Regions from separate parts of the Homo sapiens genome. Here all the other regions are linked to region 5. Evidence: promoter capture Hi-C in 16 types of primary human blood cells and fetal thymus (Javierre and others, 2016). All regions are on one chromosome and are shown on one strand. Each heading gives the region's core, a stretch centred on a gene start or on the middle of the fragment in contact. The rest is flanking DNA. Distances are from core to core; before and after follow the strand shown.

Region 1 (4,032 bases), core at 1,035-3,534, 1.8 Mb after region 5:
TCAAAATCATCATTTGAAAAAAGAAATCCACAAAACTGGGTGGGAGTGGTCTGGGAGGAGATTGTGCTGGATGAGGAGATGTGTTTAGAGCATAACTTACTTTCTTTCTTTCTTTGTTTCTTTGTCTCTCTTTCTCTTTCTTTCATTTTTTTTTTTTCAGACAGAGTCTCTGCTTGCTCTGTCACCCAGTTTGGAGGGCAGTGGCACGATCGTGGATAACTGCAGCCTCGACCTCCCAAGCTGAAGCAGTCCTACCACCTCAGCCTGCCAAGTAACTGGGATTACAGGTGCACACCCCCATTCCTGGCTTTCTTTGTTTTTTCTGGTATAGATGAGGTGTTGCTGTGTTCCCCAGATGGTCTCAAACTCCTAGGCACAAGTGATCTTCCCGCCTTAGCCTCCCAAATTGTTGGGATTACAGATGTGAGCTGCTACGCCAGGCCTAGAGCATAAATTCTCAGATTACTTGAATGTGTTTCATGGGTAAACCTGCTTTTAGACTTCAATAATACTACTTACCAGAATAATGTTCCAGAGGCAATTTAGTATATGTTGGTCATCAGTGTTTAGGAATTGGGTAACCAAACCAGCAAGCTTAAAGTAACGGACAAGGAGTGCAGAGCAATGGTTATGAGCACACATTCTGCTTTGGGGAATTTGCGCAACGTGACCTTGGGCAATTTACCTAGCCTCTCTCTGCCTCAAGTTCCTCACCTGTAAAAGGAGGATAACAGAACTACCTCTTAAGATTGCTGTGAGGATTCATGAGGTAATAATATATGTATCACACGATATTGTGAACATTAATCCTGGCACATAGTAAACACTCAGACATCAACGTGAATACTCTGCCCAGTTTTTAAGTTGGTGTAGACTCCAGATGAACCATAAAACTGGTGGAAGTTTTAAAATAATGCCCATTTCTAGAGGTGGAAAAAAATAGCAAGATCAAAGAGCCCTGGCCTCTATGAAGGGATTGTGAAAGAGGAGAGAGATAATTAAGCATTTGGTTTGTACCAAGGAGGAAACACGTTTAATTTATAGCAGGAAAGGCTTAGTTTCAAGTTGGTAGACTTCCTGGCACATTGCGCTGTAAGATACTATTGAGCTGAAAATTGCAAAGAAAGGAGAACTTACTCAATGTCAGTCAAGATGGCATTAGTAAACTTGGAAGCTTCCCTGCATCTTTTTTGGATATGAAGTATAATGATTTGACATAAATATACTACTGCCTAAAACAAAAGAGCTGGATTCTACCACTATTAGAGTCACTTAACAGGGAGAATCACTTCACCCTGGGTCTCCTGATAGCAATTCAGTAACTAAGTTCCCTTGGTTGAGTTCCAAGACCAGTAATTCTTATAAGGAGGTTCACTCTAGAGCAAATAGTGTTTATGGTGATGTTTAAGCCTTACCCACATTCAATTTGAATTACAATGGAAAGTAAAAGTATTTGACATCTAATAATCCATTTACATTTGTTAGTGATCTCAATTTAAATCACCGTGCCTATGGCCTGACAGATGAGTTACTAGATTTTGATTTTCCTGAGGTTTATAATGTTTTAAAACTCATTAACATTTTAAATATTTACTATCTCATTTTATTACATAAAGCAGCACACAAACAAACTGAAAATTATTTCTAAACCAAATTTAATCCAGAACAGTTATTAAAACAATATATGTTAAAAAATGACATTTTAAAAAGCAAATGTGAAGAAGATACAGAGAAATACTGGAGTATCCATTGTCAGAATGATTTAATTTCAGTTCAAAGGGATTTGAAGATCAGTTAATTTGTCCATCCTTCGTCATGTTATACACAGGCTGCCTCTTTGCATGTTCCTTGAAGTTGTGCAGGACAGAGCCTGTGTGGCCTCGCCCAGTGCCCTGGTGATAGATGGGAAAATGGACTTAAATGCACTTGCCCCAGGCTTCTTAAAATGTTTGATTTCTTGTTGACTTCTTGGGTGCTTTCCAAACTCCACAGTGTTGAAATAAAAGTTGACCTGCTAAATCTAAATTCACATTCTATACCAGGACATGTTGTCTGGTTAAAATGAGAACCTTGGAGGATATTATATTAAGTGAAATAATCCAGGCATAGAGAGACAAATACTGCATGTTCTCACTCATTTATGGAAGGCAAAAAAGTTGACCTCATGGAAGTAGAGAGTAGAATAGTGGCTCCTAGAGGCTGGGAAAGTTGTGTGTGTTAGGGGTGGGGTGGTAGGGAGCTAGCCAGAGGTTGATTAGCAAATACTAAGTTACTGCTAGATAGGAGGAATAAATCTTAGTGTTCTATGGCACTATAGAATGACTATAACTAACAAAAATTTACTTTCAATTTTTGTGAATAATTTATATTCAAAACCTACAAGAGTGGATTTTGAATGCTCCCAACACAAAGAAATAAAGTTTTGAGGTGATGAATTTGCTATTTACCCTGATTCGATCCCTACACAGTGTGTAGGTGTGTCAAAATATCACATGGTACCCCATAAGTATGTACAATTATTATGTCAATTAAAAATAAAAGGAAATAATCACTAGTGAAGACAAAACTGATTTAAATCTTAAAAACTTTATGCTCTCCAAATATCTAAATGCTTTCAAAACAGAATTTCAAAATGCATCCAGAGGAAGGACATAGAATAGAGTAGAAAAAATAGTGCATAGCTGTTTGGATAGCAATAGCAGTAAACCTGTTTTTTTAAAAAATGAACAGTTCCCTTGAGGTAGAAAGTAGGTAGGAGCACGTGGAAGAAGCTCAGGCCTGGAGCCATTTGGTGGCATCAACCTCTGGTGATTTGAGAGCTGCTCTGCCACCTGCGGTGCTCTCAGCAGTTCCTGTCTCATTGTCTTAATTTTATGGGATCCTGGTTTAGGTAACCTCACAGAAGCAACGATTCTTTGAGGAATCTATAAAATGTAACTTAGAGAAGTCATTGAGCGATAGCTGAAGGAGACACTGGGGAAAATTGAGAATGTGAGCAACAGCAAGCAGAGGTAGCACTAAGATATTTATTTTTGCATTTGCGGAAATGCATCTAACTTATATGTTATGTAACTTGTATCCTTTGGACTTCAAAATGCATTGAAATATATGCAAATAGAAACTTTTAACCTCTTTTTCTTTTCTGTCCTGGTGAATTATTTGTACCATGGTCATTGTGATACAATTTCTGACATTTATCCACCATGAAGGGCAAGAAATATCATATACTTCTTTGGCATTCCTTACATGTACAGCATTATGATGGGGGTAGGACAGAGTTTTATTACATTTGTCTCATATTATTAAGGTAAAGGAAAGGGAGAGATGAATCCCTAGTTTTCTAGGTTCCTGTTTATTGTCCCAAATATACCATGTATGTGTTTTTTCATTTGTCAAAGCTTATCAATTGAGTGTGAAACTCTATTTTCATTCATAGTCCACAAAGACTTACTCTAAATTGCAACCTATTGCAGTGGAAAACAAACAAAGAAAAACAAAAACAGGCTGGCTGGCACTGAAAGTGCTGGCAGGCTGAAGCAGTAATCTGTTGGTAATTTTATAAGATTTCTTTGCTGATTACTATTTGGGCAGTGTCCACATCACTGATGAGTTCACACACTCACAGCTGTTCTAGGAGCAAGACAACATCTCCAAAAACAGACAAGGATTATTCTGACCATTTAAAAAGCTGGTTCCTGCTAATAGTATTGTTGATGATCTTCTACGAGAATTTCAATTAAATGAAAATCAAATGCCAGCTCTCAGAGGCCATATGGTGTCATGAAGGAAAAGCCGCACACCCATAGTCAAGGAGCCCTGGTTCCTGCCCTGGCATTGCCAACAACTAACTGAGAAAGACAGTGATCAGCTCATGCATGCACAGACCTAGGCAAAGATCTTTAGAATCAGAGAGAAAGGACCTGCTGCTGTGGTAACCCAAAGAAACTGAGGAAAAGCTTATATTAGACTGAGAAGAAGAACAGACACATCTGAGAGGACAGAAAGGAAGGATTGGGCTCGAAGAGAAAACTG
Region 2 (3,874 bases), core at 298-2,797, 1.9 Mb after region 5:
AAGGGAATGAATGAAGTCTCCAAGTGAAAATAAGTTTAAAAAGCGTTTAAGTCATAATCATAAAACATAGAGGTTTGAAAGTAAATTGTACTTTACTATAAACATACTGATTTCCTTTTGTTATCAAAATTCACAATCATTAAAACTTCTGTTTTACACAAATAACCCGAAAGATAACACACCAAGTTCAGATCAACTTTTAAATCTGATTGCATTAGCACTTACCAACTGAACCGCCAGTTGAGAGCTGACAAAACTCAAAGAGTCCATCAAACACTGGACAATCTTCTCCAACATTAACTGTGGAAGATGGATTTCATTAATTTCAACACATTCTGCAAATTAATGAAAGCCTTTTCTTACAAAAACTATTTCCCACAAATACTTTTTTGCTTGATGCAATCATCAAACATACACTTCACAGTATAATATAAAGTTTCCAACTTTAAAATATATTTATTGTTTTATCCAAGGTAATTAAAGTGTTATCTGTGAAAGATCATCAAATCTTATCAGGATTATCTGTGGAATATTTCTGTCTATTAACAAGAACTCAATAGTTGTCTAAGTACAACAATTCTTATTTAATTAAAACACAGGCTTAAATTTTCTAGGCCTTTCCCCTTAATATTACAATAAGTTAACATTCTAAAAGCAACTTCAATTGCTTTATAATTTACTTTCTTTGAAACTCCTTAAATACCTATAATATCTGTAACTTTGAAATGCATGTCAGTAAGTTACTAAACCAAAAAGATGTAACAGCTGGTTGCCTATTCCCATGGCTAATCTTGATCTTGAAAGTTGCTAAGAATTAACTAGGTTCATGGGAGCCAAAACATAGGATACTAAAGACAACAAGGAAAACATTTACAGATAAACGATCACACATTTAGTTCCTTAGCACTGAGAGAATGAAAGGATATGGCAGATGTATGTAACCCTTTCTTAGTCTTTCCCTATGCCCTTGAATTGTAACCTCTTCAAGAATAAGGGTCCTTGTTTTGTATATTAATATCTTTGTATACCCTTAAGTCACAAGCACTATAAGAAATGAATTTTAGTTTCTTACTGCACAGAGAGATCATAATCTTTTTTTTTTTTTGGAGACAGAGTCTCACTCTGTCGCCCAGGCTGGAGTGCAATGGCGTGAGCTTGGCTCACTGCAACCTCCACCTCTGGGGCTCAAGCAAGCAATTCTCCTGTCTCAGCCTACAGAGTAGTGGGATTACAGGCGCGCACCACCACACCCAGCTAATTTTCTGTACTTTTTTAATAGAGACAGGGTTTTGCCATGTTGGCCAGGCTGGTTTCGAACTCCTGACCTCAGGTAATCCACTCACCTCCGCCTCCCAAAGTGCTGGGATTACAGGCGTGAGCCACCACACCTGGCCAGGATCATAAGCTTAATAGAACTCATTATTATGTGGGTTTTAAATCAATCCTGTTATGTTGTTTGCCCAAGGGCTACTCATGCCTCTTTTGCATCTAAGTTGGAATCTTCATTGAAAAAAAAAAAATTAAATACTACATGTTCTAGTTACATTGTAGCATTATAACAAATCAAACAAGATATGGCAGAAATGTGTATGAGGTTGTAAATATGAGATGTCTAGCACCTACACTAATTTAGTATAATCATCACTGAAGTCAGTCAATACAAACACTAATGAGAATGAACTTTGGTATCAAGCTTTAAAAGATACTGTTCCAATAATTTTAGGTTGACTTTTGCATTCTACCTTCAAGCCAATTTGTTACTAATCTCTAAAAATAAAATACTTTTAACCTGTACAAGAGAACATTACGTAGAATCAAAAGCTTCACTAATATCTTAACAAAGAAAAAGAGATGTGTATTATAGTCCAGGTTAACTGAAGTACACAAAGACAAGACAAGAGATATGTACATGCCAAGCTAAGGCTAATCAAAGTGTAATCTTGTTTTTGTTTTTTTGAAGCGAGGGAGTAAGGGAGTGAGGTCTCCCTACCAATATGTATTAACCCAAAGTTATCAGGGGAGCAAACTAGGAGTAGAAGAATACCCAAACAGCAGTTTTGCAAACCAATAAGCTTCAGATAGGTTTACTTTTTTCTTAAGTAGCTTTAGTAGTGTTAAAATGACTTTTCAAATCAGTAAATAACTGTAACATATTAGACCAACAGGAAAAATATTCAGATTTAGATCATTCTAAGCTCCTAAAAATACTAATTTACATTTATCAAAGCAAAACTACTTTTTACTTAGAAACGTACATCTCTGCATCTGCTTACTATACTCAGACATGTTATCTGGTCTTATTGACCGTAGAAATTTGATATACTCATCACTGTGATATTTTGTCATTTCTTCGGCAGTGGCTTTATGGGGCCTCTGTGAAGAGAAATAAATGTCAGAACTGTGGAATTACAACCGGTTATATCAGTATTATCAAACAAATATACAAATTCCCCTATCGGTCCCCTCAAAAGAACCAAGTCTACCAGAACAAAATATATAAATTCCAAAACTAACCCAAACTTATATGTGTTTTAGAAAACAGTAATCAATCTCAAAACTAATTCAAACTCCTTTAAAAGCATTACACAGGCATATCAACTATGATTTAATCACTCCTTATTTTAGTGGAAACAGTTCGAGTAAAAAGTCAAATCCATATGTTCATAAACTCTACTTTCTCTCCTTTTCCATGATAAAACATCCAGTGATTTCATCAATGAAATCACTCACTACAAGAGTTTTCAATTCTAAATCTTTGTTCACGACCTCTCGTCCTTTTTTCTATCCTAATCTTCCTTGTTCCGAAGAGCTCAATTTCACGTATGACACAATTCTTCCACAAGACTTCCAGACTGAGTCTTATTCTAACTTCCCCTCTTCTCTAAATGTCTACATGTAACTGAAAATAATTCACATATTCACATATATTGCCTAGCATTAATTGTTTTAAATATTTCTTTTCTCCCCAAATAGCTAATTGTCGTGTCTGTATTTGTTTATACATACCCTCATCTTTATCTACAAAAACATTAAGGCAGCTGTTGCACTTGTGTTATCTGTACTATGCTTGGCCACACTAACACAGTATTCCATATGTATTATATGCCCTGCAAATATTTGTGGGATTAATTTTATGTGTTATTATTTTGTAACAGTCCCAGGTCAACTCTTTTCAGCAGCACAGGCAGATTAACAATTATTGTAAAAAAAAAAAAAAAAAAAAAAATACTTAATATGCTACACTGAGTTGTTGCTATACTGAGTTGTTCTCCAGAACCATGAAAGCCTAGGGTAGGGGGAACTTTTTTAAATGGTTAAAGGAAAAGGAAAAAGAGGGTATAGCTCTCATTCTTATTCATCTCCTAAGAATAAACGAAAAAAGAAGTTTGTTTTCTTCCAGATCTTTTCATCTGCTAAATGCCCTCAAAAGGGGAATAATAGACAAAGTTTCACAGTAGCTAAAAAAAAATAAAAAAGATCAGTGCTGAATATGTATTAAAAGGAATACTCACATATATTTCCATTTTTCTGTATAAGCCATAATTTAACAGCAAGTTATGGGTCATGCGGATTCTATGAGGCTTCATGGGATGACCCTGTCCATAATAATAATTTCCAATATCACCTAAAATAGAAAAGACACAAACTAAACAATACAGACAAGAGACCCTCCATGAACTATTTGAATTTATGTATGTCTATCATTAGAAGGCATTTACTACTTAACAAAATTTATTTAAAACCTTAGCAACTTAGATTTATTTTGCAACTTTCAAACTGTATCAGATGACTAAGACGCTACGCACACTTTTACCAGCTGAAGACTCCATTATTACACATTATATTTATTTGTAGATTAAGGAAAGCAAGCTTT
Region 3 (3,598 bases), core at 806-3,305, 1.3 Mb before region 5:
ATGTCCAAACGGAAAACTGGATGTGCTTTCCCCAAATATAACTGATAAAATTCCCACAAGAACACTAGTATAACAGGTGGAGTGGATATTCCAAAACCAAAATATGTTAATTATAGTATCTCACATTCCATGATAAGCATTCAAGGACACCTGGTAATTAAAGGAATTATGAGAAACAACTGAGTACCTTAAGGCCTGTTCAGTTACAAAAGAAAAAAAAAATTCTGCAATAATAATAATCCTTTACACTTGGATAGCACTTTGCAATTTTCACGATACCTTATGACAAAACACTTTATAATAGAGTTGTTTTATGAAGTTAGTGCATACGCACACAACGTACTTTAGTCCTAGAGTTCATATACCAACCACATCAAATTATAACAGCACGCACAAAGATAAGCGGCACTTCAAATTTTACTAATGTCATTGTGGCTGATCATCACTTTATTCAGAAATGGTCCGTTACAATCCTCTTCCGTAGAGTTTGACTCTCTTTAAAGTCTATGCTGGACAGGGCATCTTCCTGGGTCCCTAGCTTTGGGGGAGGGTAATTCCTGCCAGGAAGCTGGTTCCACCAGTCCTGCTGTAGCTGCTGTCTGCCCTCCAGGACCAAGAAAGGACAGGTATTCTCAGTACATTATCCAGCTCTTCTTAAGAGGACAACCAGTAAAGGCTTCCCAAGGTGTTCCTACAGTTCTCCCTCAACTCCTAGGAAAACAAAGGTTCAGGCCCAGCTCTGTCACTTCGTATTCCGTTCTTGATAATATAGGTACTCCATAAGCCCCAGCCCACAGTCATCTGGCAGAGGATGGAGTGGAGGACATAATACCCAAGATACCCAAGGGGCTGCAAGGTAAAGGGTGGGTAGCAGAGAATTCAGCCAACTCTTAAGTTGCCGCTTGCGAAACGCAGCTAGCCCATCAGGTCTCCTTCGAAGGGGGAAGGTACGCAATTCAGAATGTGAGAATGAGAAACCCGGGACGCCGGGCATACAACAGGGATGGGAGGACTGCATAGAGAAGCCAACGGGCCGGCCAGCCCGAAGGGCGGAGATCGCTGCTGGGGGCGGCGGTGCCCAGCGGGTCAGAGCCGTGGGGCTGGCGAGGACCCCAGGCCGCGTTCGCCCGACAGGCTCCCCGGCGAGGTTTCAAACCGCCGCCCCCGCGAGGCGCTCAGCCGATTGGAAGTTCCACAACGACCGTCACTACCCAGGGCCGGAGCGGCAACTCCGCAGCGGAGCTCTGCCTGCCCGCTGCGTTCCCCCAAGAGACTAGACCCCACAAACTCCTCCTCCACCGCGGTCCCAACTCGAGTCCCCCCGCCGTCTCCGAGCACTCGGAGGGCGCCCCTCTGGGACGGGACCGACGCCTCGGACCGGGCTGCGCCGCGGGAGTTCGAGGTACGCGACGGGGCCGCGCGGGGGAGGCGGGCGGAACGGGCGCCCCTCGGAGTCGGTGTCCGGACGCAACCCCGCGACCCCCTCCGCCTCGCCCCTCGGGCACGGCCCGACTGGGATCCGACCCACCCATCCCGCCAGGTCGCGGGCAGGGCGAGGACCCGAGCGAGCCTACTCCTCCCGCCCCTGCTCTTACCCATCTTTCCGCCTCGCCTTGTAGACGTGACCGTAGGTGCCGCGTCCCACTTTGCACCCTTCGTACTCAAACAAATCCTCCACCCGCTCCCGCTCCGCCGCCAGCTTCGCCTTGAAATCATAATCCATTGTCTGCTTCCCCCATAGAGGCACGGGACGCGGGGGCCGCCGCCGCTCAGTCCCTCCTCCTCCTCCCCCCGCGACCGCCGCTCCACTTCTCCAACAGCCGCCTCTCGCGCGCGCGCGCGCGCCGCCCGCCGCCCGCCGCTCCGCGGTCCGCCTTCAGCAAGGGACTCCTCGGCGGCCACAGCAGCCACCTCCTCCACCTCTTCCTCCTCCTCCTCCGCGACGGCGGCGGCGGCTCCCGCAGGCACCCCCAGTCCCGCCTCCCTCCTTCATTTCCTTGTTTTGGAACCTGGTGGGCCGCGCCGTGGCTTCCTCGAGCTCATTAGCGAACTCACTGGCCCGCCCCATGGTCGCGGAGGCTCCTGGGAAATGAAGTCGCGAAGGCCTCAGCGGCCTGGGCGGTTTTGCCGGCGTAAGAAATACAGCTCCCAGGTTACCTCGGGCCACCACAGCCTCGCCCCCACAAAGCATGCGCGCCTGCGTACCAGGGCCGCCCCTCCCCCTCAGGTAGCGCACGGCTCCCGGTTCCTGTGAAGGTAGAAAGCTCGAAGTTCCAGTGTGCTTTCTGCGGTTCTCGGGGAGACACTGGAAAGAAGTGCCTTACTCTAGTGGGAAGGGGATACTTCACTGTAACTAGCCCCACGCAGAGAGTATGGAAAGCATTAAATCAGCACCTTGCTGAAGGGTTGGCTGCAGTGACTCGGGAGGCGAGGGCTGGTGAGGACAGTTGTACCGCAGCTTGTTTCTTTTCTAGGGCAGTGGGTCCGCCTATTGCCCCGCCCCCCGTCCCGCTGCTCATTGGCGGGGGCTGGAGAATGACGTCCTCGTTGGTGCGTGGGTATCCCCAGGCTTTGGCTTCTTTCCCGCTCTTGATTGGTGATTGGATGTGCTCGGTTCTTCCTGATAGGTTGATCTTTTTTCTTTACGATGCAAAAACCGTATTTCAAAAACTGAACCTTCAGCAGTTTCCTAGAGCCTGCCTTGGCCAGAGGAGAACATGCAACTTCTGAGCCCCAGCAGCCAATCATCATTTTCTTGGCGCTGTAGTCAGCTTTCTCTTAGCATATGCGGTTCCCATAACCAGGCTTTGGCCATCTGTCTAAGGACAATTAAAAGTGCCTGGAGGAAGCCGCGTTTACGATCCTTTGGGTTGAATTGTAAAGGATTTTTTATGGTCTATGCATGATGTGAGGTTCTAGAATGTTTAAGAAAGCCCCTTTAGTTAGGGTGAACGTTGATTGATTTCATTGTGTTGGGGCTCAGGACACACTACCCCAAATTATAACTGAAGGAGTCCAGAATATGCCACCCCAAAATACGCCACTCTGGCATATTGATGTCTTTTAGCAAAATAAATTAAGATCCAGCCAACACAGGAAAATGCTTCACTTATCCCACTACTGCCTAAAATAAAGAATAACTCTTCCTTTGTAAAGAGAAATTTACATTTCTAAAGGAAATTTTCGTAATTAAAGGAATCTTACCAGAAAGAGAGCTGCTGCTAGTCAACTTGTATCATCTGAGATACTTTTATCTGCATAAAAGTCAACCTTTATTCACCTTAGACATTTTTTCCTCTTATCCTCTCTTAACTTGTCTCCACCACTCCTGGAAGCCCCAAACCCCACTTTTGTTTTGAAGAGACTGGCCTTGCTGTGTTGCCCAGGCTGGCGTCCAACTCCTGAGCTCAAGGATCCTCCTGCCTCAGACTCCTGAGTAGCTGGGATTACAGGTCCGTGCCACCATGCCGGGCCCCACTTCCTTTTTGAGGTCAGGATGTAATATAAGTGTCAAACATCTGGCCCTTCTTTGAGTCTCATATTTTGTGGGACTCTTGTGCATACATACGTAATTAAAACTTTTTCTCCTGTTAACCTG
Region 4 (3,926 bases), core at 390-2,889, 1.9 Mb after region 5:
GCTGGGCGTGGTGACAGGCGCCTGTAATCCCAGCTACTCAGGAGGCTGAGGCAGGAGAATGGCTTCAACCTGGGAGGCGGAGGTTGCAGTGAGCCGAGATTGCGCCATTGCACACCAGCCTGGGCAACAGCGAGACTCCGTCTCAAAAAAAGAAAAAATAAATAAACATAATAGGTTTAAAAAACTAAGTTAAAAAATAAGTCTCTCTATAGCTTTTTATTTACTGAGGTTAAAGATCTTTTCATATTTACAAACTATTTATATGTATTTGTTTCCCAGTTCACATCCTTATACATTTTGTTCCTCTACTATCTTTAGATATGAGCCTTTTGACCTGGATGAGTTACAAATCTGCCTCCCACTCTGTCTTTTGTCATTTTTCTTGACTTGTCTTCTAAGTTTTTGTTGGTCCACTGAACTAATTTTTTTTTTGTTATCAAATATATCTTTTATAGTTGAGTTTGGTGTCACACTTAGGCCTTCTTCAATCCATTTGCTTTAAGAGTTTAGGTTTTTGGTAGTTTTATCTTTTCCTATTTAAATCTTCTAGTGGAGGGCAGAAAACTGGGTTTTCCATTTGGTTACCAGTTGTTGTCCCAATTCCACTTACAAAATAATGTCTTTCCTTGCCAATTTCAAATATCATTTTTATCCTATATGAATTTTTTAAAGTATTAGGGTATTCTGACATCTTACTATGTTACATTGACCTTACTAGACACAAGAACCATAGCTTCTTTACATATTATTTCTAAAAATTTTGTTATTACAAATGGGGGTCTTTGTTCTTCCAACAGACTTGGTCACTAAGTGTTACTGATTTCTGTTTATTAATGCTGTACCAAATCACCTTGCTGAAATTGCTTTAGATAGTTCTCTTGAGGTTTTAGTTGTATATAACCAACTACTTAGAAAAACAAAACCTCTTAAATACACCCAAGGAGATCCAGTATAGTATTGAAGTGTACAATTTCAGTATGTTCACACAATGGAACATAATACATAGCAGTCAAAATGAACTATACTTAACATGTGTCAACAGGGGTAGATCAGAATATTAAATGAAAAAAAGCAAAGGGCCTTTGTCTCCTGGCACCCGGATACTGAGCTCAGTTTCCGTCTTCACTGTTCCATCTCCTCCATCCACTACTCCAGGATCTCATAGGTGACTCTACCACAGCCCCTGTTGTCCTGTGAGCTGCAGGCACTGGGAAATCCACAGGGAGGATGCCAGAACATCTGGAGCCTGCGAAATGGTATTTTCTTATTTAAAACAGGATCATCATGGTAGACGGGAGGCATGGTGGGAGGGGGGCGAGGGATAAAAGATTACAAATAGGGTGCAGTGTACACTGCTTGGGTGATGGGTCCACCAAAATCCCACAAATCACCACTAAAGAACTTAATCATGTAACCAAACACCACCTGTTCCCCAATAAGCTATGGAAAAATAAAAATAAAAAAAGCAAAGTTACAGAATTGTCCAAATACATACCATCTATGTTTCACAAACACTAAATACATTTCATTATCCCCCTAACGAAGGGACTAAGTTTCTTAGTTCCTAATGTCATAAAGGTTTACAGATTGATAACAAATATGTAGCAAAAGTACAAAAACATGGGTAAAATATTCACAAAAACATGGATAAAATAATCACAATGGTGATTACTTCTTAAGGCTGGGAGGGAGGGAGGATTACAAACGACAAAGTACACAAAGAGAGCTTCAATTTCGGTGTATTTTAAGAAAAAAACACCGAAGCAAATATAGCAAAAGTAAAATATTTGTTAAGTCGGGGTGGGTGCACAGCTGTTCATTACAAAAGTCTAGGTGCTATTGTGAATGTCTGAAACATTTAAGAGGCTTGTAGAGAAATATTTTTTCTTTTAATATTTTACTGCACTGAAGAGAAATACTTTTGACTGAATTATCTTCTGGCATTCTGTAATTTTTAATCTCAAAAGAATCAATGTGGGCCTGACAAAAAGGGAGATTTCACTGATTTTGGCAAGTTCCTAAAATGTTTTGTCTTCTTTGCACATCTTAGTAGCAGGAGTTACCCCCATTTGTCTGCTTCCTGCTACTAGAATGTAAGCTCTGAGTGTAAGCTCTGAGTGAAAGCATTTTTCCATTATATTCAGTTACACTCCTACAGTCTTAAAATGGGCAGACACACAATAAGTAGTTGCTGAATGATAAATCAGTTGTGTTTATTTCCTTGAGTTAGAAACCTGGATGTCACGTAAATAATAATGGAACCTGGATGCCATGTAAATGCAGTAAAAGAAACAGGTTTTGTCTGCAGGTTCCATTTTAAACCAGCAATATACTATAGGCAAGTCTGGTCAATACAAGTTCTGGTCAGTTTCTTCTTTCAATTCAGAATTTCCATTTCAATTTTGAGAATCTTTGGGTCAACTCAAAGAACTCCTACATCTCAATTGCAGAGTCTGTATTATTTCATAAATTGTAATGGGATGTTAATCTTCACTGATACTAACTGGCTAAGCTATAGAGGGCAAGGTGGTAGAATTTCTATTGCAAAGATAAGTAATAATTACTATAAATACTCTTCCCAAAGAAACAGCAAATAGTTATCTTTCAAGCTGTAATCATTATCTTTCACCTAGAGTGTATTGTAAGTCTACAGAAATGATGTCATTAGCCACTGAAACAAGACTTCATATTGTAGTAATAAACAGACAAAAGATAATCCAAGTACAATTTTTTAATAAAGATAATTACAAAAGATGGAAAAATCAGCTCAGAAAGGCCAATTACTTCTTTAATAGATCAGTTTTTTTGACATAATAACTCACATCAATTTTAAATACTATCACATAAAGCATGGTGGAGAAAAGAAATTTTGCTTCATAATTAGAAAAACTCACAATAAAACTTGCCAAGAAAAACAAAAACGAAAAAGCCATTTGAAAATAAATACAGTCCATGCCAAAGTAGTATAAAATGAAGCCAGAAGTCTTCAAAAAGAAAACATTTTCCTTTCAATATTTTCTTTTTAATGATTTTCTGAAATTGGTGAGACTGTCAAATTCAGGGGTTGCTGAGCTGTTCTGATTTGGTTCTGTTAAAAGAGGCAATGTGAAATATTAAAAATGGCACAATCTTGGTTTAAATGCACTGACCTATTATATTGATCAGGTCCTGTAGGCTCATGCTAAGAAACACATTAATTGATAATGTCTTAAGTGTTTCTGGAGTAATTAATGCCTTAATTTTTCTAGTGATTTAATAAACTATTCCAAGTTATCCTGTAAAGGCTGGCACAAAATTATGTGTGCCCAAACATTTACATGCTTTCTGACACTAAAATCCTCAACTGTTTTTACTTAAAATTGTTTCTTAAATTTACCTATCTCACAACACTAAAAAAATCATGTACACAGAAATAAGAACACCATGAAAACCATTAAGTGCATATATAAAAGATAACAGCAAAAAAGGGTCTCAGATAAACTACGTACAAGAATACAAACTGACTGATATAGTTATACTGATAAACCAATAGGTAAGATGGCATATGTTGTCTTATGTACCAATACAAACTAAAATTCAGAGCACCTCATAATGATGTTCTAAGGTTCAGTCTAGTATTTCTGAAGTGTGTACACAAACACACACCAATAAACATGTTTAGTATTTTTATAGTATGTAAAAAGTACTTGATAAGGAACATCATTTACCCTTTGGTATCTGTTTTTTCACCACTGTTGTCCTTGGATTTATCTTCTTCCTTAACGTCTAAAAATAAAGATTGGGAAAAGATTAAAACCTATTTTGAAATATAAAATGTATATATATTATTTCAAAATATACTTTATTTTTAAAATATAAAAAGTTATGCAATCTTATTATTAATGAATTCGGTCTAAATAAGCTTTGTGTTGGGTGTTTCCTAAACG
Region 5 (4,104 bases), core at 1,406-3,905:
CATTGAGTATCTAAGGTTGTTCTCAGAATTTCACGTTGGAAATAAGTTGCCAAAGTACTAAAATCTAACGCAGTATATGGGTCAATAAAGACAGTTCACAAGACGGAATATATGAAGGGTAGCCAATCATCAGGCCAAATTCAACTAGCTGCCTGTTTTCCTAAATAAAATTTTATTCAAATGTGGACACACCCATTCCTTTATGTATTACCTATGCCCACAATCATGCTACAGATCAAGTAGTGGTGCAAAAGACTTTATGGTTCACAAAACCTAAAATATTTACTGCCTGGTCCTTTACAGAAAATATATGCATGCCAACCCATGCTGTAGGTAAATTCCTATCATGCTACTCAAAAGGTATAAAAATTTGATAAGAATAGTACACAAAGATATGGTTTTACTTTGAAAAATATTTTTTGTACTAAGCTGTGGAACAGATGCTGCATGTGTTGATAGTACACAGAAAGAAGTGCAAGATGCCACAACCCTGTTTGCCAAACTTACCGGGAAAATAATAGTGCTCTCAGGTTAAAGTATAAAACACACAGAGTAGATGAGAGTGTAGTTATGAAGAGTCACCTTATGAAGAAAGAAAAGCTCCCAGGCTGAGTCTCAACTATGTAATACTCAATGTAAGCGTTGGGTAACAAGAAGTAAAGAGGTGGGTGTAGGAACTTAGCAAGAGAAGCGCCGGAAAGGAAGTATGACAGAAGCAAATTTGAGTCTCCTAAGAGAATTTAGAGGTGAGGATATTGTGGGCTACAAATAAGAGGGAATCTATAGTCTATATGACAGATATCTCCATAAAATAAATATAAATGATACCAGCCATTAAAGTAACTAACTTCCTTTGGTCTGATTCCATGGTCACCAAGCAACCTTCAGATTATTACACAGCTTTTCAGTTAGATTTCCTACAAAAGATAAAGTAATGTGCCTATGAAAATGAGAATTTGGTCTTTGGTTAACCTGGCTGTACTGGAGAGCACTGAACCCATCTCGAGATGCCAATGACACTTCTGAGTTTGCAAGCCAGTGCCCTAGATAGACTCTGGAATTCACCCAGGAAGCGCGGACTAATCAGCTTTCTCTGAAGATAACTGCTCACACACCCAGCCAACTATTTTAAACTAGAACTGATGTTCCTATTGGATTAAAGCCTGACACGAAGTATGTATTTTTCAGTTTAAGCACAGGACAGTTAGTTTTATGAAGTATTTTGAAAATGCATGAACTTAATGATTTAATATTAAAAGCTTATGGAGATATCCTAAACGGCAACTTAAATTACTCTTCCAGATAAAACATATATGGTACTTACATATACTCTTTATTAAATAAACAAAAACAATCCAACAACTGCTTGTCACCTTTTTAAGTATATTTTTATACTTACAGCATATATGTAAACAATATATTTTTCTTTCAAAAGTTAGTTATTACAGGATGCATTAACAAGATGCCCTCTGGGAAAATTTCAGCTTTCTTTTAATGAAACTTATTTCAAGGTTAAGTTAAAAGAAGTCACACTAAAGGGAAATCTGTTGTCTTCTTCGGGAAAATGATATAAGAATATTAATAATCTAATAGAATAAATATGCTTTCAATAATGAAACAAAAAAACACAACTTCGCAGCTGGCTATTTTTATTGTCCTTTGAAGAATTCTCTCCCAAGCTACTGAAACTTAAAGTATCACACTGTGACAGACTTTAATCCCATCTTACCTGGTGTCCACATTTCTAAAGAAGCTGCTTATTGCCTCATCATAAATTCCTTTCTAAAAAGAAAAACATATGTTAATAGCATTTAGGTTTTGCTTCTCGCCCAAATCAAGTTCTTTCAATTTTAATTACATAATACTGTAATGGCTAGGATGAGACTCTGATAAGAAAAACCAAGTATCACAAAATGCGGAGCCTGACTCTTCCCAATCTCCTTAGAAGAGTAAATGCCAGATCTACAGATAAAAAGTTCAGCAGGGGGTGCTAAAGAAAGGATTTCACCCATAGGACTGTAGGACAGGTCCATCAAATGAGCGTTCTCTGGATTCTTCGTAATCTTTTTAAAAGCTGACTGGTTAAATTAAGGAATACAATAACCACACGTGTTATCTATTTTACAAAGTACTTTCCCATATACAAATCTCACTGTTCTGCACACGAACACCAATAAAGAGGAGACCCTGAGAATCAGGAAAAACGTTAAGACTAAGGTCGCTGGCCAGTGTTCTTTTAGTTTAGTGTGTGTCTGACGCAACATGTTTAAAAACCAGTACGTTCTTTACTGGGAAGATCCCATGCATCTTAAACGGGTCAGATGAAAGCTCAAGTCGATTATTTCCTGCGTATGGGCTGGAAGACCTAGCTGACAGGCGAGGGGGCTCGCGGCGGCGGGCGGGTACCTGGTTGACCGCGGCGTGCTCCCTTAGTGCCAGGTCCCAGAAGCAGCAGCCGATCTGGTTTCCGCACTGGCCGACTGCGACCGGAGGAGAGGAAGGAAAGAGAATAGGACATTAAGCAGGAAACATGGCCGCTGGATTCCGCGGCGACCAGGTCTCTACCCGCCCGGCGTAGCTTACCCTGTACGACCACCGACTGGGTCATGGTGGTGCGCCGCCGGCTCCGGGAGCTTGCTAGCCCGCGGCCGCTTCTGCATTCCCCCAGCAACGGCGCTCTGCTAGAGAGCTGCCGTAAGTCACGCTACTGCCGCAAGCCTCTGCCGTCGCTAAGCACGTCTGTAGGTTCAGGCTAAGGTTTTCCGTCAGAAGGCCGCGCAAGTGCACTTGCGTGTCACCGTTACCGTAGCGACTGGGCTTCTGGACTGTATATCCTAGCTGCCTTGTCAACATCTTCGAGCATCGGCAGCTCCGGAGGCCGGGGTAACTGGCAGGTAACTAGGCTTTGGAGTGGTATTTTAAAATATGTGTCGTTAAGCTGTTCGTGGGCTATCAGAGGTTTAATTTTTGTTCACAGCCTCAACACCCGGGGCGGTGGATCAGTCCGTTTATTCAGATTCCACGGGACGCTGCGTTGGCATCTCTGTTCAACAAGCCCTTTATTCTAATAGAAAATGAACAATGGCGTTGAGCAAAGAGAAACCCCAGAGAAATAGTCATGTCAGGGCACAATTGAAACTAGATGGTTATACGCTTTGACAAAAATGGCAAAGCTAAGGTCACAGACCCAACCAGTATTTGTTGAACGCTGTATACTCCCCAAATTAACTTGTAGGCTCGCTGGGAAGATTAGAAAGAAATTAAGGCATAGATCCAGTTCCAAGAAGCTTACAATCTAATTGAAGACATACACGCGAAATACTTAAAGAATTGTGTGGCGTTGACTATAAGTGCAATAGGATTCAGTGGTTGAGGATGTAGATGAGTATGTAGAAGTCTGATAGAAGACACGAGATTAACACTAGGCATTTAGATGGGTATTTAGATGGGATAGGCAGGAGAAGATTAAAAAGTTAGGCATTATGACAATTACCAACTACTTAAAATTGTCAAACATTAAAATATGTAAACTTCTATTGATCAAATTAGACCAGATTTTAATTAAGAACTCAAGTACTTCTTTAATGAAATTAATATTTTCCACAAAAATTCTGAAGAACTACGAAACTCTAAGAAGTCTTCTTTGTTTAATAAAAAGTTATATGGTATGTGCTATGAATATGTGCTAATATGAACTGTAATATTCAATGGATTAGAACACTTTATTGTCCCACCAAGACACGTAGTAGTTACTATTAAATTTCTCTGGTAGCCGGTAGGTTTAAAGTTGCAATGGATTTTATATCTTTTGGTAATAGGCAGCTTTCGGTCAGTAAATTTTTGTAGGCTGGATTTATTCTTAACTTCTTACTGAGTATGGGGTCAGTGGTAGAGGTAAAGTTGGGCATTTTAGGTCTTGATGCTAAAGTCCCAACGTCTGGGGCTTCCAAAATTTGCAAGTCTTGGTCCAGTTTGTAGGCAGTGATGTGAATAGGTCTGTATCAGTGTGTTATCAGTGCTAGGTGAGATGATACACTGGCCTTTGCAGAGCCCTACCCTTCATGCAGTCCCAGTCATTATTCCCCACACAGGAAAGAAAAGTCC
Region 6 (3,781 bases), core at 1,277-3,776, 1.2 Mb before region 5:
GGGAAGCAGAGAAATTCGGTGATAACTGAAGGTAGAAGTGGGGTCAAGTAAGGATTTTTTTAAAATTTGAGTAAGATCTTAATAGGAATGATTACTAAAGAGAATAAAGGGAAGATGTACAATCAGAGGTATCTTAAGAAGGCCTAGTGAATGGGAGTCCTTTAAGTGTTTTATGTGCAAAGTGCTATAGCCAATGAGGCATTTTTAAAAAACTGGAAATCTGGGGGAAAGATGGTCACTCTTGATAGAAATGGGGCTGAGAAGGGAAATCATTTTAGAAATAATGGTAAATGTATTTTGGACATATTGAGTTCAGGAAAATATTTAAGCAAAGATTAACCAACTTAGTACAAGGGATTTTTATTTTTATTATTTCTATGATCTGAAGAGAAACCAGAGTATACAAGGAATTTTGAGCTTCAAGATAACAAGAAAAATGATATATTTTACAAAGGACCAATCCAGTTGGTAGACTATTTAAATTATCCTATATCAAATTAATAAGGATTTACTTTGCCAAGATTCTTGGCACTTTTATATTAACTTAAATTGCACTGGGAAAAAAGCATAATAGTAGTTGAGAAGCAACTAATTATAAGCAATTATAAGCCAAATTATGTTTATACCACAATTAGTGTTTGAGGTGGTTTAGTAGGCAGATTCTTCAGTAAGAACCATCAAATAATTGAACAGCTTGTAAAACACAGAAATACTTCTTTTATCTTTATTCCAAGTAGAGTAACCACATTCTTTTATCATTATAAAATAAGCAACATTTATTATCTTTTGTCCCAATCCGCAGTTTGAGTTGGATGCTTATAAAACATGGCAAGAGGGCTGGGTGCGGTGGCCTCCCAGCACTTTGGGAGGCCGAAGTGGGCAGATCACCTGAGGTCAGGAGTTCAAGACAAGCCTGGCAAACATGGTGAAACCTCGTCTCTACTAAAATACAAAAATTGGCCGGGTGTGTTGGCATGCACCTGTAATCCCAGCTACTCGGGAGGCTAAGGCAGGAGAATCGCTTGAACCCAGGAGGCAGAGGTTGCAGTGAGCCGAGATCACGCCACTGAACTCCAGCCTGGGCAACAGAGCGAGACTCCGTCTCAGACAAACAAAACAAAGCAAGAGTAGTTTATGTACCTAGCTCACAACATAGCTTCTTTCAACAGGTTTCACGGAGACACGTGAACCACGTTCTTGTAAGACAAGAGCTATTCTACAGGGTATCTAGAGTGCAAACCCAAACCATGTCTTTTTCAGTGGATTTTTCATGTTGACATCATCTTATTTCACTTTGGGGAAAGTTTTTTTCTAAGGATGATAGCGAAAAGTCCTTTTGTCTTGTGACAATAGCAATTTTTATGTCAGCTTGGGTTTTTTTCCTCCCATATTCCCAAGTAAAAGTAATAACTTTGTTACCAGTTTTGCCATCTGAGGTTAAACTGTTTGACCATGGCTTGACGACTATTTTATACTTAACACTTATAAAATATTAGACTGATAGTTATTTAAGTTACCACCAGTGATAGCTCTGGAATCCCTGTTTTATTAATTTCCAGGTAAATCCTTCTTAAGCACATGGGAAGATAGCACTGTAAATTTTGGGGGGTAAGGAGAACCTCCATCAATTAATACATCAGCTTGATAAAATTCAAAGAAAAACATGATCAAATAAGTTCAGATTATATTTAACACATTCAGTTTCTAGAAGTAGTTTTGCTGAATAAATTCCCACCAGTTGAGCTAATGGAGCAACGGAGCTGCCAGTGCTTCCCGGAGGCTGCTGTGCTCAGCCAATTCGGAGGCATGGCGAGCCACACGGTGGGAGGTGGGTAAAGCCGGGGCCCTCCAAGGCTGGGCGCCACGTTGCTTTTCTCTTCTGAAATAGGAAGACAATGCTTCTGGCTATTGTATAAACCAGCCGAGGACTGCTTTCATTCGCACATCAGCCAAGGCGTGAGCAGAATTAAAGCGCCTTCTAATTCGACCCCTGGCAACGTGCGCGTCACGGACAAATGTTTAGTTTTAACGCCTGGCTGCGTTCGCCTTGGGAAAACACACTTTTAAGAATGGCCAAGTACCTCAGCAGTCGCGGTGAACTGCACAAGATCAAAACCACCACGCCAACCCAGCGCTGGCCACCGTCCCCGCTGAACCCCGCCAACACCCCTAAGGACCCACCCATGTTTTCTGCTAATCATTTTTTTTTTCTAAACAGCTCTGCACAGCCTTTCCTCATTCCGTTCCCGCTCTCCCCACCCACTCTGCGTTCGATCCGAGGTTTCTAGTCCCCAGCTGGACATCACAGCACCAACTCCCACTCAGGAGCCGGCCAGAGCCCGAGCCGCAGCGCAGTGGGCAGCTCCCCGCGCTCTCCGCCAGGCCCTCGGCCAGCCAGCCGCCACTCGGCCGCGAGTGATTGACAGGCGGCAGCAGCTATAGGCCGTGGAGGTGGGACGATGCGTCACTTCCTGGTCTTTTGGGGGGAGCCGGGATATATAAGGGCGGTGCTCACGCAGCGCTCTCGCTTACACAGTATGGCCGGCGACATTAGCTAGCGCTCGCTCTACTCTCTCTAACGGGAAAGCAGCGGAATACAAGAGACTGAACTGTATCTGCCTCTATTTCCAAAAGACTCACGTTCAACTTTCGCTCACACAAAGCCGGGAAAATTTTATTAGTCCTTTTTTTAAAAAAAGTTAATATAAAATTATAGCAAAAAAAAAAAGGAACCTGAACTTTAGTAACACAGCTGGAACAATCCGCAGCGGCGGCGGCAGCGGCGGGAGAAGAGGTTTAATTTAGTTGATTTTCTGTGGTTGTTGGTTGTTCGCTAGTCTCACGGTGATGGAAGCTGCACATTTTTTCGAAGGGACCGAGAAGCTGCTGGAGGTTTGGTTCTCCCGGCAGCAGCCCGACGCAAACCAAGGATCTGGGGATCTTCGCACTATCCCAAGGTGGGTCCCCGGGGCGCTCGCTGACATCCGGGCCTGGGGGCTGTCGCCGCCGCCGAGGCACCAGCCACGGGTGGAGCCCGAGTTCCCTCAGCTTTCAGTTGGGGGCAAGTCTGCGGCCTGGGGTCGCTTCGGCGGCCTTGGAAGGTGCGCGGTTTGGGGGAGAGCGGCCATGTCCACGCGGGCCGGAGCCGGCTTCTCCCGCCGTGGTTGCCGCGCCTGGCATTGCCCTGGGGGAGGGGAGGAGGCCGGCGCGGCCGCGTGCTCAGGTAACGTCCCGCGCTGGGCGGCGGGCGGCGCGGCCCGGGGTGGTTTTGCGGCCCGCGCCTCCCGACATTTCCCTCCGTAGTAGTTGGCGGCAGGGGCCCCAGGTGGGGGTCGGGGGCGCCTGCGCGGGTTGCCTCCGGCAGGTGTGGCTCGGCGGGCTTAGTCAGGCGCTAATTCGGGCGTGCCGGCTTCGGGGAATGGAGGGCGGGAGCGGCGCTTGTTCTTGCCTCGGGCGCGGATAGGAGGGGCCCTCCCGGCCTTGTCTGAGGGGCTGGCGAAGAGGCCTCCCACCCGCGGCGGCCGCGGGCAGCATGTGGCGTTCGGGCGGCGGGGATTGGGCGGGAGCAGTTATGTCGCAGTGGCGGGGCCCCACCGCTCCCCTAACATGCTCTGCGCCAGAGCCTTTTCGGGGCGGCTGGGCAGACGGCGCAGTCCCCGGGGCCGCCCTCGACACGGCCGCTGAGGCCGCTGGGGGCTGCTCCCCAATCTCTTGACCTTGGGTTGTGTAACCTGCTACGGAGCCGGCGGAGCGGGGCGGGAGAGGTGCGGGTGGAGGGAGG
Region 7 (4,015 bases), core at 978-3,477, 1.8 Mb after region 5:
CCTGAGACGTGAAAGATAATGGAGGTGAAAAGAGGTTTATAAACTAAACAAATGGGCAAAAACTTCAGGGTTTGTTTTATTTTATTTTTTGTTTTACATTCTAATTGGTAGTGGAGTGTTTAACCATACTGAAACCTAAGGAGGCCTTATATCTGGTTCTATTCTTAGCCTGAAAAATGGAGAGAAATGAGTCTAAAATGTCTCCAAGAAAGCTGAAGAAATCATCAGGGGAGAAAGGAAGAGAAGGAAGGGAAGGAAAGGAAGGGAAGGAAATCATTAGCTTTCCTGGAGACATTTTGGACTCATTGTAAAGTATCTTGAGTGGAAAGTGTAAGACATGGTACACTAGATCACTCAGAAGATGAGCTGGTTTAGATGGGAAAACAATAACCTGACTTTAAGAAAGTGGTGAGAAATATACGAGCAGCAATTACCAGATCAGTACGGAGACAATGGAAAATACAGAGCTGGAATTTCAGTTAGCCATTAGGATAGGAAATTCTGATTGTTGTGTCATTGGCATAAAAGCAATATTTAAAGCAATGAGAAAAAATCCAAAGTCAATTGAAAACTTGCCTTAAGTATCTTTTCCTCAATATTGGAGACGAGATGAGTGTGGTGATGCATGCCTGTTGACTCAGCTACTCAAGAAGATGAGTAGCTTGAGCCCCGGAGTTTGAGGCTGCAGCGAGCTATGATTAGGCCTGTGAATAGCCACTGCACTCCAGCTAGGCAACATAGCAAAAAGCCATCTAAAAAAAATACACACGCGCACACACACTGGAGAGGAAGGGGAGTGGAAGACATGTAAAAGAGACAGAGACCTCAGCATAGGGCAGTGACAAAGTCCCTGTCTGTCCCAGCAGACCACAAGATACTGGCTGGTCTGGGTAGCTACAGTTGAGATTGGGAATTTTTTTGTTTTTAGATGAGGTCTCTCTCTGTTGCCCAGGCTGGAGCGCAGTGGCGTGATCTCCGCTCATTGCAACCTCCGCCTCCGAGGTTCAAGCGATTCTCCTGCCTCAGCCTCCTGAATAGCTGGGATTATAGGCGCGTGCCACCACACCTGGCTAATTTTTTTATTTTTAGTACAGACAGAGTTTCACCATGTTGGTCAGGCTGGTCTCAAACTCCTTACCTCATGATCTGCCTGCCTCGGCCTCCCAAAGTGCTGGGACTACAGGCGTGAGTCACCGAGCCCGGCCTGTAGTTGGGATTTTAAGCAAATTATTTAACAGCCTTATAACTGGGAATTCACCTAATTGATCTAATTGATCTCTGAATTTACTGTGGCTATTAAATGAAATAATATATACAATAGTGATTGAAATTTTAAAACTGTCAAGTATTTACACCTACAATCAAAATGTAAATCAAATTCCAACTGTAGCCTTAATGGAAGAATGTCACATTTTCATCACTCCCTACATTCTCAGCCATGAGTCCCCTCCATCCCAGGAATCCTTACAGTTTTCTCACAGTGGCACTGTGAAGGGCTGTACCTTCTTATCTCTGATCTCATCTCTCAGCCACATCTCACATCTGGATTCTCTTTCCAACTGTAACATTCTCTCCCTTTCTCTACACCCTACTTTACCTACATTCCAAAAAGCTTCACTCTGCTCTAAGCAACACTCACACTTTTGCCCCAGGAAAGGTAGAGGTAAGTTTTTGGCACAACTTAACCATTTATGTTTTTATTCAGTTGTCCAAAAATATGTTTTGTGATGACAATATTCTGGATAAAGTTACTAAGGATGTTTCCAGATTCAAGAATCTGACCTGTCAGATTCTGTTTGTGTGTGTGTGTGTTTCTTTGAATGCTAATTCCCACCTTGCAGATGTAGCCCTAAATACTTCTCTTACAACAGATAAAGTTTAATATTTAATATATTTCAGACAATTTTTAGTGTATCTTGATCATTTTTGTAACCTTCACAAAAACTAGAAACATCCCATAAAATTCTTAACTTTATCTGAGGCAGTATGATATAGTCAGGGAAACAGCGTCACAGCTTTGGAATTATCAAGAGCTGGACTGAGAACCCAGTCCAGACCACTCTCATGAGCAGCATAAACTTGAGCATGTTATGTTATGCCTCAGGGATTTGATTTACAAAGAAAATGGGAGTAATGGTTTCTATTTTATAAGATTACTGTAGGGATTCAAATATGTAATGGAGGCAAATCACTGTATGCCAGTGCCTGGTATAAAGTAGGTACTTAATAAATATCTGCTGAGCAAATGAAATCCTTCCCAGTCATCTCATCACAAAACCTAATAGAGTGTTGAAGGCACTGAAAAGTCCGTCAGACTGGAGGGGCCCTTACTAAAGTTCTACTTTAGCAGTAGCTTAATAAAAACTTTCTATTTATTGATTGCAACAAGTTATTTCTAAGAGTTTAATACATCTTTTTCTAAAAGTGCATTGTTATTTGGAATAAAGATAAGTGTTTGATTTTATGCTTTAATTTCTAGAACCATAGATTAGTTCAAATAGCTCATTTCAGCCACTGTTTAAGTCTCCTTTTTAATATCAGAAAGTATTTATGACTAAGGAAGCAATGAAAAATTGCCCCTTGTATGGTCCCTATACTCATCATGCTGAAGATTCAACTTTTTCTATGTGAATGTTTTACCTCCACTTCTGGTCCGCCAGTTAAGAACAATGAGAAAAGTGACTAGGTAACTCTATAAGACCAGGAACCTGATCGCCTGATCCTTTTAATGAAAACTTTGATTGCTTTTCTTTATTTACTTGCCTCTTATCTCTGAGAACAAAGTTGGAAAGGGAATTATCCCCGTGCCCTCCCCAATCTTCCACCTTCATTCCATTCTTCCAAAAGCTTATATGGAAAGTTTTCAGCCTGTCCCTGGAGGATAAATATTGCAAATTTTGAGAAATGCTACTATGGTTAAGCTTTGATTCAAAATTTCTGGAGAAAACTTTTTCTTTAAAGATTTTCCTACTTTTTGTTTATTTGTCTCTAATATTAAGTCCTACTTTTTGATTACTCTTTCAAATATTAAAAAATCTTGGCCAGGCATAATGGCTCACATCTGTAATCCCAGCACTTTGGGAAGCTGAGATGAAAGATTTGCTTGAGCCCAGGAGTTAGAGACCAGTCTGGGTAACATAGGGAGACCCTGTTTCTACAACAAATACAAAAATTAGCCAGACATGGTGGTATATGCCTATAGTTCCAGCTACTGGGGAGGCTGGGGAGGGGGTGAGAGGATCATTTGGGCCCAGGAGTTAGATCAGCCTGGGCAACAGAGCAAGACCCTGTCTCAAAAAAAAAAAGAATATATATATATCTGAGTGTGTGTGTGTGTTTGTATATGTATATATATATGTGTATGTGTGTATATGTATATATATATGTGTATGTGTGTATATATGTATATATGTGTGTGTATACATATATGTATATACATGTGCATGTGTGTGTGTGTATATATATATATGTATGGTTATTTCAATTGGTGTGCCTGAATAGCAATAACCAAAAAATACACTCTTCTTTATAGTGGTTTTGTAGTGATCACCTATTCCGACCATGTGGAGATCTAACATGCCAGAAACATCACTCCTGTTGTAGATGTGTTAGTTCTTGATTCTTCAGACAGATAAGCAGTGACTCTGATGTTTCCTAATTATGAAAGAATCTTTCTATTTGAGTACTACTGGATAGTTAATAAAGAGCACTAAAGCAAAGTCTAAAAGTAAAGAAGCTTGCAGTTTTAGTATCAATTTTAAAAACTAATAAAGCTCCTACTACAGGCTGGGGGCAGTGGCTCATGTCTGTAATCCCAGCATTTTGAGAGGTTAAGGTGGGAGAATCACTTGATCCCAGGAGTTCGGGACCAGTCTGGGCAACATAGTGAGACCCTGTCTCTATTTTTTAATTTAAAAAAAAAACTCCAACTACATATAAGGTTCTGTGCCTATTACAACCATTTGAGCTCTTATTGGATTCCTAGATGGCAGATAGACTTCAATGAACAACGGCT

The links. Contacts are between HindIII fragments. The CHiCAGO score rates a contact against its expected background, and 5 or more counts as called.
Region 1: a contact is called between a fragment that was not itself captured here and the fragment with the promoter of TUBE1 in region 5, in 2 of 17 cell types (total B cells and naive B cells). The highest score is 11.2, in total B cells.
Region 2: a fragment that was not itself captured here is called in contact with the fragment with the promoter of TUBE1 in region 5 in 1 of 17 cell types (total B cells); the score reaches 7.7 in total B cells.
Region 3: a contact is called between the fragment with the promoter of CDK19 here and the fragment with the promoter of TUBE1 in region 5, in 6 of 17 cell types (total CD8 T cells, naive CD4 T cells, naive CD8 T cells and 3 more). The highest score is 7.4, in total CD8 T cells.
Region 4: a fragment that was not itself captured here is called in contact with the fragment with the promoter of TUBE1 in region 5 in 5 of 17 cell types (naive B cells, total B cells, naive CD4 T cells and 2 more); the score reaches 12.2 in naive B cells.
Region 6: the fragment with the promoter of AMD1 here is called in contact with the fragment with the promoter of TUBE1 in region 5 in 1 of 17 cell types (naive CD4 T cells); the score reaches 6.6 in naive CD4 T cells.
Region 7: a contact is called between a fragment that was not itself captured here and the fragment with the promoter of TUBE1 in region 5, in 1 of 17 cell types (total B cells). The highest score is 7.4, in total B cells.

What each region holds. Positions count from the first base shown.
Region 1 is chr6:113,880,614-113,884,645 of GRCh38, forward strand. It overlaps LOC124901382 (a long non-coding RNA gene), which reads left to right. Exons shown (of 3, transcript XR_007059716.1): 2 at 161-4,032. Among named protein-coding and RNA genes, the nearest start is that of MROCKI, 9.3 kb to the left of the region's middle. The HindIII fragment of the contact is 2,224 bases long and covers 1,173-3,396 here.
Region 2 is chr6:113,956,394-113,960,267 of GRCh38, forward strand. It overlaps HDAC2 (histone deacetylase 2), which reads right to left. Exons shown (of 14, transcript NM_001527.4): 2 at 3,513-3,625; 3 at 2,256-2,373; 4 at 226-300. Among named protein-coding and RNA genes, the nearest start is that of HDAC2-AS2, 11 kb to the right of the region's middle. The HindIII fragment of the contact is 288 bases long and covers 1,404-1,691 here.
Region 3 is chr6:110,813,414-110,817,011 of GRCh38, forward strand. CDK19 (cyclin dependent kinase 19) reads right to left here and starts at 2,056. Exons shown (of 13, transcript NM_015076.5): 1 at 1,596-2,056. The coding sequence starts at 1,723. It also overlaps a transcript of AMD1 not described here. RefSeq lists enhancers at 807-916, 1,151-1,703, 2,277-2,356 and a silencer at 1,327-1,636. The HindIII fragment of the contact is 5,084 bases long and covers 1-3,598 here.
Region 4 is chr6:113,938,001-113,941,926 of GRCh38, forward strand. HDAC2 (histone deacetylase 2) reads right to left here. Exons shown (of 14, transcript NM_001527.4): 13 at 3,708-3,765; 14 at 1-3,088. The coding sequence ends at 3,058. Among named protein-coding and RNA genes, the nearest start is that of HDAC2-AS2, 30 kb to the right of the region's middle. The HindIII fragment of the contact is 4,520 bases long and covers 1-3,899 here.
Region 5 is chr6:112,084,827-112,088,930 of GRCh38, forward strand. It overlaps TUBE1 (tubulin epsilon 1), which reads right to left and starts at 2,656. Exons shown (of 12, transcript NM_016262.5): 1 at 2,584-2,656; 2 at 2,407-2,480; 3 at 1,730-1,782. The coding sequence starts at 2,608. It overlaps FAM229B (family with sequence similarity 229 member B), which reads left to right and starts at 2,765. Exons shown (of 4, transcript NM_001033564.3): 1 at 2,765-2,894. RefSeq lists enhancers at 2,186-2,235, 2,370-2,901, 2,636-2,825. The HindIII fragment of the contact is 2,028 bases long and covers 1,258-3,285 here.
Region 6 is chr6:110,872,259-110,876,039 of GRCh38, forward strand. AMD1 (adenosylmethionine decarboxylase 1) reads left to right here and starts at 2,527. Exons shown (of 9, transcript NM_001634.6): 1 at 2,527-2,957. The coding sequence starts at 2,848. RefSeq lists enhancers at 2,949-3,664, 3,665-3,781 and silencers at 3,102-3,351, 3,412-3,481, 3,512-3,701. The HindIII fragment of the contact is 4,442 bases long and covers 1-3,781 here.
Region 7 is chr6:113,846,963-113,850,977 of GRCh38, forward strand. No RefSeq gene overlaps it. Among named protein-coding and RNA genes, the nearest start is that of MARCKS, 8.4 kb to the right of the region's middle. The HindIII fragment of the contact is 1,235 bases long and covers 1,611-2,845 here.